Regions from separate parts of the Homo sapiens genome. Here all the other regions are linked to region 3. Evidence: promoter capture Hi-C in 16 types of primary human blood cells and fetal thymus (Javierre and others, 2016). All regions are on one chromosome and are shown on one strand. The core of a region is centred on a gene start or on the middle of the fragment in contact, and the rest is flanking DNA. Distances in the headings are between cores, read along the strand shown. Region 1 overlaps CUX1 (cut like homeobox 1). Region 2 overlaps CUX1 (cut like homeobox 1). Region 3 holds the start of COL26A1 (collagen type XXVI alpha 1 chain).

Region 1 (4,603 bases), core at 1,701-4,200, 890 kb before region 3:
AGGCCACGCCACTGACCAGCTGCAGGCCACACGGCAGAGGAGACTGGCCGTAGTCCTGGTCGCCCAAGTGCCATCGATTGGGGCTGCCACCACCAGCCCAGTGCCGCACCAGCACTGGCCACCATTCCTGGTTCCCCACAGCAAGCCTATATGACAGGAGATGGTGTCTCCATTTTACAGAAAAGGAAGCGGACGCCAGGGAGGGTAAGGGCTTGGTTCAAGGGTAGGCAAACAGTGCTGGTGACAACAGCAAGTAGGAACGCAGGCCCTGGCGAAGCCCTTCCTGTGAACCAGATGCAGATTGACAGAGCAGTGCCCGAGATCCCCATGTATCCTAGAACCACACGGTTTTCTGTGTGCCCGGAAGCCACACGCCCGAGGACCTGCGGACAGGTGCAAAGGGGACGACCTCGGGAACGGCGATTCTTGAGGTGCCCTTTGGACCTCGAATGACAGTGTTTGCTGCTCGTCCTCAGGCCAGAGCACTTTAAATAAAAACAACCCACACATTCTTGTGTTTGTATAAAAGATATTTACTTCAATTATCACACCTAGGGTGCTAGTGAATAATAATACATGGTGTGAGTCTCATACAGTGATATTGCTTCTCCGTATTATATAGGGACCGTTGTACAGTGCTGAGAACAAACATCGTATGGCTAACCAAAGACAGAGGGACAACACCAAGGGGCCGACGGGTGCCTCCCCCACCCCCACGCCAGCCAGGTCAACTTTGACTCTTAATGTAGAAAAACAAATAGCAAGAAATAAAATGTTACCAGAGAGATGTCACACAGCAACACACCAGAGGCATCTCAAAGCGATTTGTACAAAAAAAAAAAAAAAAGACGACTTTTTTTTTTTCCTTTTTTCTTTTTTGGTCAATTGGGTCTCTGTGAGGATTGGAGAAAAAAATCTGTGATTGTGAGGATGAACAAACAAGCTCTAGAAAGATCTAAGACTTGGTGCGTTACAGAAAATATAAAATACTGCTAAAATGTAAGACGTGACAAAACGCTAGAGTGGGGGTGGGGTGGGGGGAGCTGAGCTTATAGAGAGTTTTCCGGAAGATTCCGCCACCCTGTGAGTGCGTCTTGTGCTGTTAGTAGTCTGGACAGGAGCGTGGTGCTACCCGCTCTCAAGGCAAGCAGCAAAGAGTTATTGCACAAACGCAAAGAACTAGGTCTCTTATTCAATGCAAAGGGATGTGGGGAAAACCACCTTCTTTTTACCCCCACTTTTATTTTATAACAAGCTATTCTCCAATGTTTTAAGAATTTTGGGTGAATTCTCACATCTCCAGAATACACGGGATTTTTTTTTTCCAAGAGGTCTCAGATGGGGGTACGTGAGATGCCCGTTTTCTCAAGGGAAGAGGCAGAAGATGGTTTGAGAGAGAGAAATGCATAGACTAATTAGAGAAAAATGAAAAAAAAAAAGGCTTCTGGGGAGATGGGGACCATTGTTTCGGTGGAGGGTTTCTTTCAAAGAGAGAACAAAATCAGGGCCCCCGGCAATCTTGGAGAAGGGGAGGTGATGATATGGAAAGAGATGCTCTTCCCAGCCTACCTTGGGGTGAGCAGGGCCCTTGCCTTGGCCTGGGGTAAGTTTCCTTCTGCTGGGCCCATGGGATCAAGGCAGGGCGCCTCACCTTCACACCTGATTGGCAACAACTGGGTGTCCTGCTGGCTGAGCTTGGGGCCACAGCAAGCAATCTCCACACCCAACCTTCCTCCACGTTGAACCACCTATAGGGGAAAGGGGCCCTCTGCCTATGATCTCCTAGGTGAGCCCTCAAGCCACAGCCTGGTACTACAAAACACTGTTGCTTTGAAAGATGGTTTTGACCAACTTTGTACGCAAGAAAAACAACAACAAAAAACCAACCAAAACGTATCAACCCATGCGGGCCTTGCAAGAAATCACTCTCTCGCTTGGAGGTAAAGTCTTGGCCAGGCCACCGCGCCCTCTCTGACCACGGCTCGCCGAAACTTCATGAACCCAGAAGTCTTACCAGAGGCTCTAGGAGGCTTTGGGGAACTGAACTTGGCTTTGCTAAGATTCCTCTGAAGCTCCTCAAGCGAGCATTCTTCAACTCAGCAACTCCCTCACACGTTGGTAAATTTTTTTGTTCATAAACACTCTCATTTAAAAAGTTAGACACATAGAGACCACCAGTTTTTGAGTGGCTACTCTGGAGACAGGTGTTTGATTTTGCTGGGGAAACCCCCTCTGCCCCCCAGTCAATCCCCCAGACGCCTTGGTTCTCTGGGGGAGTAGGGGAGGAGAGGAAGGCAGAGGATAGTAACCACTAGAGTGACAGCAAAAAGCATTTATGACAACAAAACACAAAATAACAATACACTCCTGATAAGTACTTAAATGATTAACCTAATAATAAATAGAAGAGGATAGAAATAATTTTTTTTTTCTCAAGGAAACATCCTTTTATAATCACCCTCACGCACGCCGGCAGGTCAGTAGCAGTCAGTCCATTTCAACAAGACAAGATTAAGTGCTGGAAGGGATGGCTGTGGCCTCAGACACTGGGGAAGGGTCTCAGCTTCTGAATCACGGATACTCCCTATCCTGCCTCGTCAGGCCAGCGGCTCCGGCCAGAGCCCGCGGGCCCTGCACGCCCAGCACAGTGGTCACCAAGAGGCAGGCTGGGAGACTGGAGGGAGTCGGGGAGGCCTGTTTTCCCTTCGGTTCATGAACAAACGGAACTACAGTGAACAAACTCATTCATAACCTGAATCGTCCTGGTCTAAAGCTTACTTTGAGTTCATTTGGTGTGCAATACGTTATTTTTTTAAAATGAAGAAAAATGATTTCAATTGCACAGAGCTTTTACACATAGTCATCTATTTAAGTGCTTTCCGTTTAAAGCAAAGTACAAAAAAAATAATAAAATAATAAAAAAGAAGAAGGAAAAGGGGGGAAAAAAGAATTATAAAACAAAAGCAGCTCCGTGCCACTTCAATGTGTCTTGCTGAATGGTCTCTTGTTTCACCAGCAGAAGTCCCAATGCTTCCGTACACACTGTGCTTCTGATTAATTTCCATAGGGATGTAGCCGTGACATTGGGATATAAGGCACCTTTTCTTTCTGATTACAGAAAGCTTGATACATAGCATATAGCATATTTTGTGGTAGAAATTAAAGCGTAAACACTACAGAAATTACAGTAACGTAGACTAATGCTTTCTTAACATTATCGGGTAAACTAAAAGGATTCATGAAAAGCAACTCAAAGGCATCTTAAGAGTTTAAGAACGGGGGCATGGGGGAAGTGCACATTTATGCATAGCCAAATGTCTTTCTCTCGCCAGCCTTTTTTTTTTGTCTTTTTTTTTTTTTGGGATTTTTCGCCTACAATGCCCAACTTTTAAAGTTAGCATTTTGGAGGAGACTAGGCGCTTTGGAAATGTCTTGTTAAAGCTAAATGTCACTTCATCCAAAAATGAAAACTCGAGATGATGCCACGGATGGCATGGACACGGTTATCTTTGGAGGGAAGGTGGTGGTGGGAGAGGCCTGGGCAGGAGGAGGCAGTTTTTGGAAGTCGGGCAGACAGGCGGAAATTGCATTTCCTTCTATTCCCCTGACCAGGGTGGTGAGGAGCACAGGCCGCCGGGGCCTCTGGGATTGGGAAGACTGGGCTGGGGGGCCGGGAGTAGGGCTGGGGCTTGTTTTACGCTCTGCCCCCCACACCCCCTCCTCTTCCGTCCTGATTAAGCCCAAGGGTTGGTGGACTTAACTTTCAGCCCATCTCTAAGGGTTTCACAGACTGGATCTTTCTAAACTTTATTGGGTACCTGCTTCCCCTTTTCCCTGGTAGTTTTCATCTACAAAAAGTCAAAACCTGATCGAAATAGAAATAAGATCATCAAATTGGACCATTCTCTTAGCGTTCGAGTGTGCCGGCCAGACTGGCATTCAGTACACGCTGAGATCCAACCACATCACACTGGCCTCAGGTCACCACCTCGCCACTCAGGGCACAAGCCCTGCCCTTGTGGTCACAAAGGCTTCCCTAATGTCGTCGATGCCCAGGTGAAACCACAGAAGCACTGAGGGCTTTCTAAATGTGAGCTTTGGCTGGTCAATGCCCAAGCACAGGATGCTGTCCCCATCCTTAGGTTCTTACTTGCAAACTGTCTCCAGCAGGGGAACACTTTGGCCCCCACAGTGGACAGACCCACCTCCAACCACCAGCCCCAGGAGCTGATTTTCTTCGGTGCTGGATGGGAACTGGCATATTCTTTTGGGATAAGAGGGTGATGCCACTGTGGACGGGGCGTGTAGGCTGGAGGAAGCCATCTATCCTTTTCCGTCTTTGAGATGTTTGATGTTTGCAAAGGAGTGTTCGCAGTGACGCTAAAACCATGCCAGAGACAAGAGACACCCAAGAGCTACAGTGTTCCCCAAAGCCAGCTGGGAACTTTGGGGCAGTCCGGGACAAGGATAATGGCCATGATGGATCTTAACAGCTGAGCAGGACTGGACAGAAAGGAAGGCGGACCAAAGACAAGACCCTCGGAGCCCCGAGACCACGCCCTGCCTGCAAAAGAAACAGCTGCTGGAGCTTTGGGAACAGGTG
Region 2 (4,496 bases), core at 1,787-4,286, 880 kb before region 3:
TGGGTGGATCACTTGAGGTCAAGAGTTTGAGACCAGTCTGGCCAACATGGTGAAACCCAGTCTCTACTAGAAATACAAAAAATTAGCCGGGCATGGTGGTGGGTGCCTATAATTTCAGCTACTCAGGAGGCTGAGGCAGGAGAAGCTTGAACCTAGGAGGCAGAGGTTGCAGTGAGCCGAGATCGTGCTGCTGTACTCCAGCCTGGGTGACAGAGCAAGGCTCTGTCTCAGAAAAAAAAAAAAAAAAAAAAAAGAAAGAAAGAAAGTGGAAATGGGATAGCATGGCACCTGGCAAAGAGAAGCTTCAGGAAACCCCTGTCCACGTTTCCGTTCATTTCCTTCATTCTGCTTCATTACTGTTGAAGTTTCCTTCCAAGTAGAGGGACCTCCACTGTTCTAACTGCTGGCCTCCCTCTGCCTCTGTTTTGATCTGATTGCTAAATTTGGAATGAAGAAACTGGCTGTGCAGCTCCTGGACTTTCTTTTTTTGAGACAGGGTCTGGCTCTATCACCCAGACTGGAGTGCAGTGGTGTGATCTCGGCTCACTGCAACCTCCGCCTTCTGGCCTCAAGTGATCCTCCCACCTCAGCCTCCTGAGTAGCTGGGGCTGTAGGTGCGTGTTACCACGCCTGGCTAATCCTGGATTTTGTCCTTGCGGGAGGTAGCTGGAACACGGGGAGGCCTGTGCGGGGCCAGGGCTGCCATTGTGGGGAAGTTTGCCTGAGTCTAGGGTCCACGTAGCAGGTGCGCTCAGTTCTCACAATGAGCAGCATCTTGTGACTTTGCCTCTATGGGCAATAAAGGTGTGATTTGGACTCTGACCTAATATTTTAGTTTCCCAATTTGTTCAGAGCCTGGGTGGTTTACTGGGCCCCTTTAGGAACTCCAGTGGACCTTATGGGGGAGGGAGGGCCCGGTGAGAGACACAACTTCCCCTCCAGCCTGACTGTGACTTTGTGCTGCCCATGACTGTGTCATGTGCACAGCTGGGAGGGCCCCACTGCCATCGGCTAGACCTACGTAGGGTGACCTTGGTTGAACCAGGAGCACCTACCCCAATGTTATCGTGCCCTAGGGACAATGGGAAGCAGCACCTGAGATGGTCAATGGCAAGGCACTAGCTTAGGGATCTCCATCAGGGCCCTGGAATTCTTGGTTTCTAGCAGCAGAGAGTATGGTTATAGCTATGATCAGCAACTCAGGATCCTTCAGTGGGTTTCCTCCATCTACTCCAAACACTTCATCCCAGTGCACTTTGTTCTACCAAGACAGCACTGGGGCCTGACCTCCTTAGCCCCTCTGAGTTCTATATTTTTCATCTGTAGAATGAAGAGAACTGGCTGGGTGCGGTGGCTCATGCCTGTAATCCCAGCACTTTGGGAGGCCGAGGCAGGCGGATCACTTGAGGTCAGGAGTTCGAGACCAGCCTGGCCAATATGATGAAACCCGTCTCTACTAAAAATACAAAAATTAGCCAGGCGTGGTGGTGCACACCTGTAGTCTCAGCCACTCAGGAGGCTGAGGCAGGAGAGTCGCTTGAACCTGGGAGAAGGAGGCTGCAGTGAGCCGAGATCGTGCCACTGCACTCCAACCTGGGCGACAGAGCAAGGCTCCGTCTCAAACAACAACAACAACAAAAAAGGAATGACAAGAATAAGGTATCTCATATACATTTGTGAGCTGTGAGGATTAAGTGATATAACTCGGTGAAATACTTAGCTCAGAATCTGAGATCTAGAAGATGCTCAATCTGTCTTCATTAACTCATGAACTTTCCCAAATGCAAAGGTCTTAAATGACTTCATTTATTTAATTACAGAACTAATCAAACTAATTTGGAAGATAACATGGCAGAAGACCCCGAGAAAGCACTGCAAAATCACTAAGAAATAAAAGTTCAGGCCAGGTGTGGTGGCTCATGTCTATAATCACAAGGCTTTGGGAGGTTGAGGTGGTAGGACTGCTTGAGGCCAGGAGTTTGAGACCAGCTTGGGCAACAGAGCGAGACCCCTGTCTCTATAAAAAATCAGCAGGCATGGTGGTGCATTGGCATCCTAGCTACTCAGGAGGCTGAGGTGGGAGGACTGCCTGAGCCCAGGAGTTCCAGCCTGCAGTAAGCTATGATTGCACCACTGCACTTTAGCCTGGGTGACAGAGCAAGCCCTTGTCTCTAAAAATAAATAAATATGAATATAACTATAAATATAGATATATATAAACTAAACCACAAAAGTTTCACTCCTTTTGAACCATGAATGCCTACACTCTCCCTTATTAAATGATGTAATCGAGAGGTGATTTTCTTTCTGGGTCATGGCAGATACCACCTGTTTCTAACTATGTGACAGTGACGGGAAGGGACGTGGCCTTACATCTCTGCAGTTAAAACCTCCAATAACACCTAAGGAACTGCCAGGCGTGGTGGCTCACGCCTGTAATCCCAGCACTTTGCGGGGCCGAGGTGGGCAGATCACCTGAGGTCAGGATGTTTGAGACAAGCCTGACCAACATAGTGAAACCCCGTCTCTACTAAAAATACAAAAATTAGCCGGGCTTGGTGGTGCATGCCTGTAATCCCAGCTACTTGGGAGGCTGACGCAGGAGAACTGCTTAAACCCAGGAGGCGGAGGTTGCAGTGAGCCGAGATTGCGCCAATGCACTCTAGCCTGGGCAACAAGATTGAAACTCCATCTCAAAAGAAAAGAAAAGAAAAGAAAAAAAAAACCCTAAGGGACCAAGGAACGGACCAATCACCGAGCTCCCAGCGCCCCACCTCCGGCCCCAGCCTCACCCCTGTGCGCCATGGCGGCCTCCGGACAGATCAGCCCCTTCCCCTGGGCCGACCGGCGCTCCCTGTGAGCCAGCCGTCGTACCTGTAGTTGTGGAACCAGTTGATGACGGTGCTGGTTTTCAGGTTGAGCTGGGTGGCGAGGTCTTCGATGGTTTTTGGTGACGGGTATGGCTTTTGCTGATACGCTCGTTTCAGCGCCTCCTTCTCCTCCGGAGCCAGCACCACCCGGGGTTTCTTCAGCTGGTGCTGGGGCTGGGGGCTGGCGCCCTGGCTGTACTCGGTGCCGACAGAGGGCGGTTCGCAGGGCTGGCTGTCACTGACTGAGCTGTGCCGCCGCTTCATGTAGGCTGCGGAGGAAGAGATGGCAGACTAAGGTCAGGCCCAGCTGGGACAGCAGCCCAAATCCCCAGTCCCGCTAGCGGGACGGCACAGTGCCGGCTTGCAGGACTTTGCATAGAGCATCTCAAAACACTAAGATGAGGCTGGGCATGGTGGCTCATGCCTGTAATCCAAGCACTTTGGGAGGCCGAGGCAGGCAGATCACTTGATGTCAGGAGTTCAAGACCAGCCTGGCCAATATGGTGAAACCCCGTCTCTACTAAAAGTACAAAAATCAGCTGGGCGTGGTGGTACGCACCTGTAATCCCAGCTACTAGGGAGGCTGAGGCAGAATTGCATGAACCTGGGAGGTGGAGGTTGCAGTGAGATGAGATGGTGCCACTGCACTCCAGCCTGAGTAACAGAGCAAGATTCCGTCTCAAACAAAACAAAACAAAACAAAACAAAAGAAACAACGCTAAGATGAGAGCCATTCTGTTACCAGCACATGCTCACCAAGGACCTGCTCTGACGGAATGTCAGGTCCTCACCTGTCCCTGCACAACTTAACAGTTTAGTAGGGGAGGCAGAGAAGTATCCAGAGAGATGTTCCCAGCAGAGTGAAAAGTGGGGTGGGGGTAAGTAAGTGCAAGAGACCATGGGGATACTGAGAAGAGTTCCTCGGCCAGGCCTGGGTGTGGGCGGCAAGCCACCCAGGTACCGAGGCAAGAGACCGAGGACACAAGCTGTTCTAGTATAATAAAATATAAAACAAGAATAGTTACACCAGATATAGATCTTAGATATGATTATATATGAATATCATTAATCATTAGTTTGTAGCAATTACTCTTTATTCCAATATTATAATAATCCTTGCTCTATAACCATAACCTAGGAAAAACCAGGCCATACAGAGATAGGAGATGAGGGGACACAGTGAGGAGTGACCAGAAGACAAGAGTGCGAGCCTTCTGTTATGCCCAGACAGGGCCACCAGAGGACTCCTTGGTCTAGAGGTAACGCCAGCGTCTGGGAAGACGCCCGTTGCCAGGCGGACCGTGGTCTAGCGGTAGCCTCAGTGTCAAGGAAAAACACAGGCTACTTAGCAGACCGGGAAAGGGAGTATCCCGGGAAAGGGAGTATCCCTTTCCCCGGGGGAGTTTAGAGAAGACTCTGCTCCTCCACCTCTTGTGGAGGGCCTGACATTGTCAGGCTTGCCCGCAGTTATCTGGAGGCCTAACCATCTCCCTGTGATGCTGTGCTTCAGTGGTCACGCTCCTAGTCTGCCTTCATGTTCCATCCTGTACACCTGGCTCTGCCTTCTAGATAGCAGTAGCAAATTAGTGAAAGTACTAAAAGTCTCTAATAATGGTGTAGGTTGTT
Region 3 (4,575 bases), core at 85-2,584:
GCAACTTTTACTTGCATGCTTATGGTTTTCTGGGGAAATTCAAATGCGGGCTCCGGAGCCGCAGCCCTGAGCGTCCCGGGGGTGGCCATGGCGCCACCTGCCGGCCGAGAGGAAGGAGACGCCTGGCGGGTCCCGGCGCCCGGGCCCGGTGACCCTGCGCCCTCTCCAACCCCGCCACGGAGCCACCCGATCCCAGCCGGTTCCACGTCCCGGGGTGGCTGGGGAGTCGCAGCCGAGGATCCTCCGCGGCCTCAGCCCCAAAGACTGGGCGGGAATGACCCCTCTGGTGTCCTGGGGCCGCTGATAGGAGAGGGGTGCCCGGGACGCGAGGCCTTGGCCACCCGAGAACCTGCTCCGCGACACAAAGCCGCAGCCGCGCAGGTGAGCGGCAGAGCCACGTGAGCGGCCGAACGCCCCGGGCAGAGCCCCAGCCCCAGCCACGGCGGTCGGAACCACCTCTACTCGGAGCCCGGAACGAGGGGGCGAAGGTTGGGGAAGCGAAGAAAGGAAGGGACAGGGTGGGCGCGGCCAGAGACCACCGCAGCCCCGGAGCCGGACCCGAACCTTCAGCCCCCGCAACCCCGCAGCCCCGCAGCCCCGCGGCCCCAACCCCCAGCCTCCTCCATCGCTCGTTCCAGCTGCCCCGTCTGCAGCCCCCAACCCCCGCCGCCCCGCGCCCCAGCCCCCAATCGCCCTGCACCCAAGGCCCTTCGGTCTTTCCCCCCGTGACCCCAACCCCCAGCCACCGCCATTTCGTCCCAGTTGCCCCGTGTCCCCTGCCCCTGGCATCCGCCACCCCGCGCCCCCAGGCCCGAATCGCCCCGCACCCCAACCCCCTCCAGCTCTCGTTCCAGCTGCCCGGTGTCTGCAGCCCCCAGTCCCCGCTGCCCTGCGCCCCCAAGTCCCGGATCGCCCCGCTCTCCAGCCCCCAAGCCTCGCTCCAGCCACCCAGTGGCCAGGGCCCCCGCTGTCCGCTCCCTCCCCCCACCCCCCGGCCCCTCGGCCCCGAGCTACTCACCGGCGGCTCGCGTAGCCGCTGCCAGGGGAGCCGGCGCCGGGCTCGGGGTAGCCGTGCTGCTGCAGAGCTGCGGCCGAGAAGGGATAGAGGAAGCCGGTGGCCAGCGCCGACCCGCAGAGGCAGCAACACGCCCAGGGCAGGAGCAGGGCCAGCTTCATCGTGCGCAGCAGCCCGCGGGGACCCGGAGTCCCGGGCACGAGGACCGGCAGGAGCGCACCGGCGCCCGGACCGAACCCGCGGCACCGGCCGGGAGCACAGCGAGAGGAGCGGGGCGAGCGGTCGGAGCCCGGGTGCGAGCTGGAAATGTGTGGGGGGCGCCCACGCCTCTCCGGGGCCGCCTTTTCAAATTCGGCGAGGTGGGCTCTAAGCCGTCAAAGGGGGCGTGGGGCTTTTTTGTTAACCCTCGGCGGTCCGGGGCCGAGGAGGCGGCAGTGGCGGCAGAGCTAGGGTGCGAGCTCCGCAGGAGGTCCCTGGAGCCTAACACCCCGAAAGCCAGACCTCGCGCCCAGGCCCCCGCTACACACCTTAGAACCTTTGAAACCAAACCTTCTTCGGGTCCGCGAATGCTTTCGGAGCGCCCATTCTGTGTCTGCCAATTTCACCTGGACGATGTTGGTGAATCCTCGCCACACTGCCCTCGATGGTCCCATTCAGAAGTGGAAACTGAGGCTGGAGAAAGTTAAGCCAGACAAATGCGAGTCTTCCGATCCTTGTGCAGGGCTCTTTGGATCAAAGCGCTGCGTTCCCGTGAGAAACTGACCAGAGCTTCCCAGGATTCTCCTCCTTCCCCTTTAACCTCCAGCCCCCACCTGCCCCGCTGTCTCTTCCAGGTAAGAAGCTTTGGGAGGGGCGGAAGGGTCAGTTGGGGTGAGAAGTTGTAGCTAGATTGGGAGGCCGAGGTGGGCGGATCACCTGAGGTCAGGAGTTCGAGACCAGCCTGGCCAACATGGTGAAACCTCGTCTCTACTAAAAATACAAAAATTAGCCTAGTGTGGTGGCAGGTGCCTGTAATCTCAACTACAGGCTGGGCTGAGGCAAGCCAATCACTTGAACTCAGGAGGCGGAGGGTGCAGTGAGCCAATATCAGGCCACTGGCCTCCAGCCTGGATGACAAGGTGAGGCTCCATCTCAAAAAAAGAAAAAAGTTGTAGCTAGAATCACAGATTCATGAGACATCCTATCCAGAAAAGGGCTTCAGGAAGATGTAGGACAATCCCACCTTTTATAAACAGAAAAGCAGAGTCCTAGATCCCATGCTGGGCCCAAGGCCAGCCTGGACCCAAGTTTTGGTCTTTTCTATGTTGCAGGATTCCCATAGGGCTTGGACCCTGCTCCAGGCCCAGGTGGGACCAGAAATCCAGCCCGTACTCTACTCGCCCGGGTTAGGAGCATTTTGTTCCTTTTTTTTTTTTTCTTTTTCTTTTTTTTTTTTTTTTGAGTTGGAGTCTCGCTCTGTCACCCAGGCTGGAGTGCAGTGGTGCGATCTCGGCTCACTGCAACCTCTGCCTCCCGGGTTCAAGTGATTCTTCTGCCTCAGCCTCCCGAGTAGCTGGGATTACAGGCAAGCAATACCATTTCGGGTTAATTTTTGTATTTTTAGTAGAGACGGGGTTTCGCCATGTTGGCCAGGCTGGTTTCGAACTCCTGACCTCAGGTGATTCACCCACCTCCGCCTCCCAAAGTGCTGGGATTACAGGTGTGAGCCACCTAGCCCGGCCTGGGAGCTTTTTTCCTAATTCTTCCAAAAGCAACCTAAGGGTGCAGATGCCCTGAGGCTTGCTCTGCCCCTGTGACCAGTTGAAAACTCCTGTCTGTAAAATGCCTACAGGATGGAGAAAAACCATCAAATATGGAAGTGTTTGCTGGACTGGAGCACATTTTGCAAAAGGATTGTAGAGGCCAGTGGCAATGGCTCACTTCAGTAATCCTAATCCTTTGGAAGCCGGGCACAGTAGCTCACGCCTGTAATCCCAGCACTTTGGGAAGTTGAGGTGGGCAGATTACTTGAGGTCAGGAGTTCAAGACCAGCCTGGCTAACATGGTGAAACCCTGTCTCTACTAAAAAAATAGAAAAAATTAGCTGGGCGTAGTGGCATGCACTTGTAATCCCAGCTACTCAGGAGGCTGAGGCAGGGGAATCGCTTGAACCCGGGGTTGCAGTGAGCTGAGATCATGCCACTGCACTCCAGCCTGGGGGACAGAGTGAGACTCCGTCTCAAAAAACAAAACAACAAAGACCTAATGCTTTGGGAGGCTGAGGCGGGAGGATTGCTTAAGGCCAGGAGTTCGAGGCCAGCTTGGACAACATAGTGAGACCCCCCCATCTCTACAAAAAAAAAAAAAAAGCAAAGCGTGGAGGTGTGTGCCTGTAGTCCCAGCTACTCAGGAGTCTGAGGCAGGAGGATTGCTTGAGCCTAAGGGTTCAAGGCTGCAGTGAGCCATGATGGTGCCATGACACTTCAGCCTGGGTTACATACTGAGCCTGTCCTTCTCCCCTCAAAGAAGGATTGTAGGATTGTTGTTAGAAGACGACAGGAAGATGGCCAAGCATGGTGGCTCACGCCTGTAATCCCAGCACTTTGGGAGGCCAAGGCAGGTAAATCACAAGGTCAGGAGCTCGAGACCAGCCTGCCCAACATGGTGAAACCCCGTCTCTACTAAAAATACAAAAATTGGATAACTAGCCCTGCCCCTGCCCCTGCCCCTGCCCCTGCCCCTGCCCCTGCCTCTGCCTCTGCCTCTCCCTCTCCCCTCTCCCCTCTCCCTCTCGGTCTCCCTCTCCCTCTCTTTCCACGGTCTCCCTCTGATGCCGAGCCGAAGCTGGACTGTACTGCCTCTGCCTCTGCCTCTCCCTCTCCCCTCTCCCCTCTCCCCTCTCCTCTCGGTCTCCCTCTCCCTCTCTTTCCACGGTCTCCCTCTGATGCTGAGCCGAAGCTGGACTGTACTGCTGCCATCTCGGCTCACTGCAACCTCCCTGCCTGATTCTCCTGCCTCAGCCTGCCGAGTGCCTGCAATTGCAGGCGCGCGCCACCACGCCTGACTGGTTTTCATACTTTTTTGGTGGAGACGGGGTTTCGCTGTGTTGGCCGGGCTGGTCTCCAGCTCCTAACCGCGAGTGATCCGCCAGCCTTGGCCTCCCGAGGTGCCGGGATTGCAGACGGAGTCTGGTTCACTCAGTGCTCAATGGTGCCCAGGCTGGAGTGCAGTGGCGTGATCTCAGCTCGCTACAACCTCCATCTCCCAGCCGCCTGCCTTGGCCTCCCAAAGTGCCAAGATTGCAGCCTCTGCCCGGCCACCACCCCGTCTGGGAAGTAAGGAGCGTCTCTGCCTGGCTGCCCATCGTCTGGGACGTGAGGAGCCCCTCTGCCTGGCTGCCCAGTCTGGAAAGTGAGGAGCGTCTCTGCCCGGCCGCCATCCCATCTAGGAAGTGAGGAGCGCCTCTTCCCGGCAGCCATCCCATCTGGGAAGTGAGGAGCGTCTCTGCCCGGCCGCCCATCGTCTGAGATGTGGGGAGCGCCTCTGCCCCGCCGCCCCGTCTGGGATGTGAGGAGCGCCTC

What was found. The method cuts DNA at HindIII sites, captures the fragments that hold promoters and counts their contacts. A CHiCAGO score of 5 or more calls a contact.
Region 1: a fragment that was not itself captured here is called in contact with the fragment with the promoter of COL26A1 in region 3 in 13 of 17 cell types (M0 macrophages, endothelial precursors, total B cells and 10 more); the score reaches 12.3 in M0 macrophages.
Region 2: a fragment that was not itself captured here is called in contact with the fragment with the promoter of COL26A1 in region 3 in 4 of 17 cell types (M0 macrophages, naive B cells, fetal thymus and 1 more); the score reaches 7.3 in M0 macrophages.

What each region holds. Positions count from the first base shown.
Region 1 is chr7:102,254,143-102,258,745 of GRCh38, reverse strand. CUX1 (cut like homeobox 1) reads right to left here. Exons shown (of 24, transcript NM_181552.4): 24 at 513-4,603. Among named protein-coding and RNA genes, the nearest start is that of SH2B2, 30 kb to the left of the region's middle. The HindIII fragment of the contact is 349 bases long and covers 2,776-3,124 here.
Region 2 is chr7:102,237,963-102,242,458 of GRCh38, reverse strand. CUX1 (cut like homeobox 1) reads right to left here. Exons shown (of 24, transcript NM_181552.4): 23 at 2,875-3,139. LOC124901711 (a long non-coding RNA gene) reads left to right here. Exons shown (of 3, transcript XR_007060458.1): 3 at 1,821-1,907. Among named protein-coding and RNA genes, the nearest start is that of SH2B2, 47 kb to the left of the region's middle. RefSeq lists a silencer at 2,329-2,398. The HindIII fragment of the contact is 5,463 bases long and covers 305-4,496 here.
Region 3 is chr7:101,359,634-101,364,208 of GRCh38, reverse strand. COL26A1 (collagen type XXVI alpha 1 chain) reads right to left here and starts at 1,334. Exons shown (of 13, transcript NM_001278563.3): 1 at 1,019-1,334. The coding sequence starts at 1,176. RefSeq lists a silencer at 1-200. The HindIII fragment of the contact is 2,872 bases long and covers 1-1,858 here.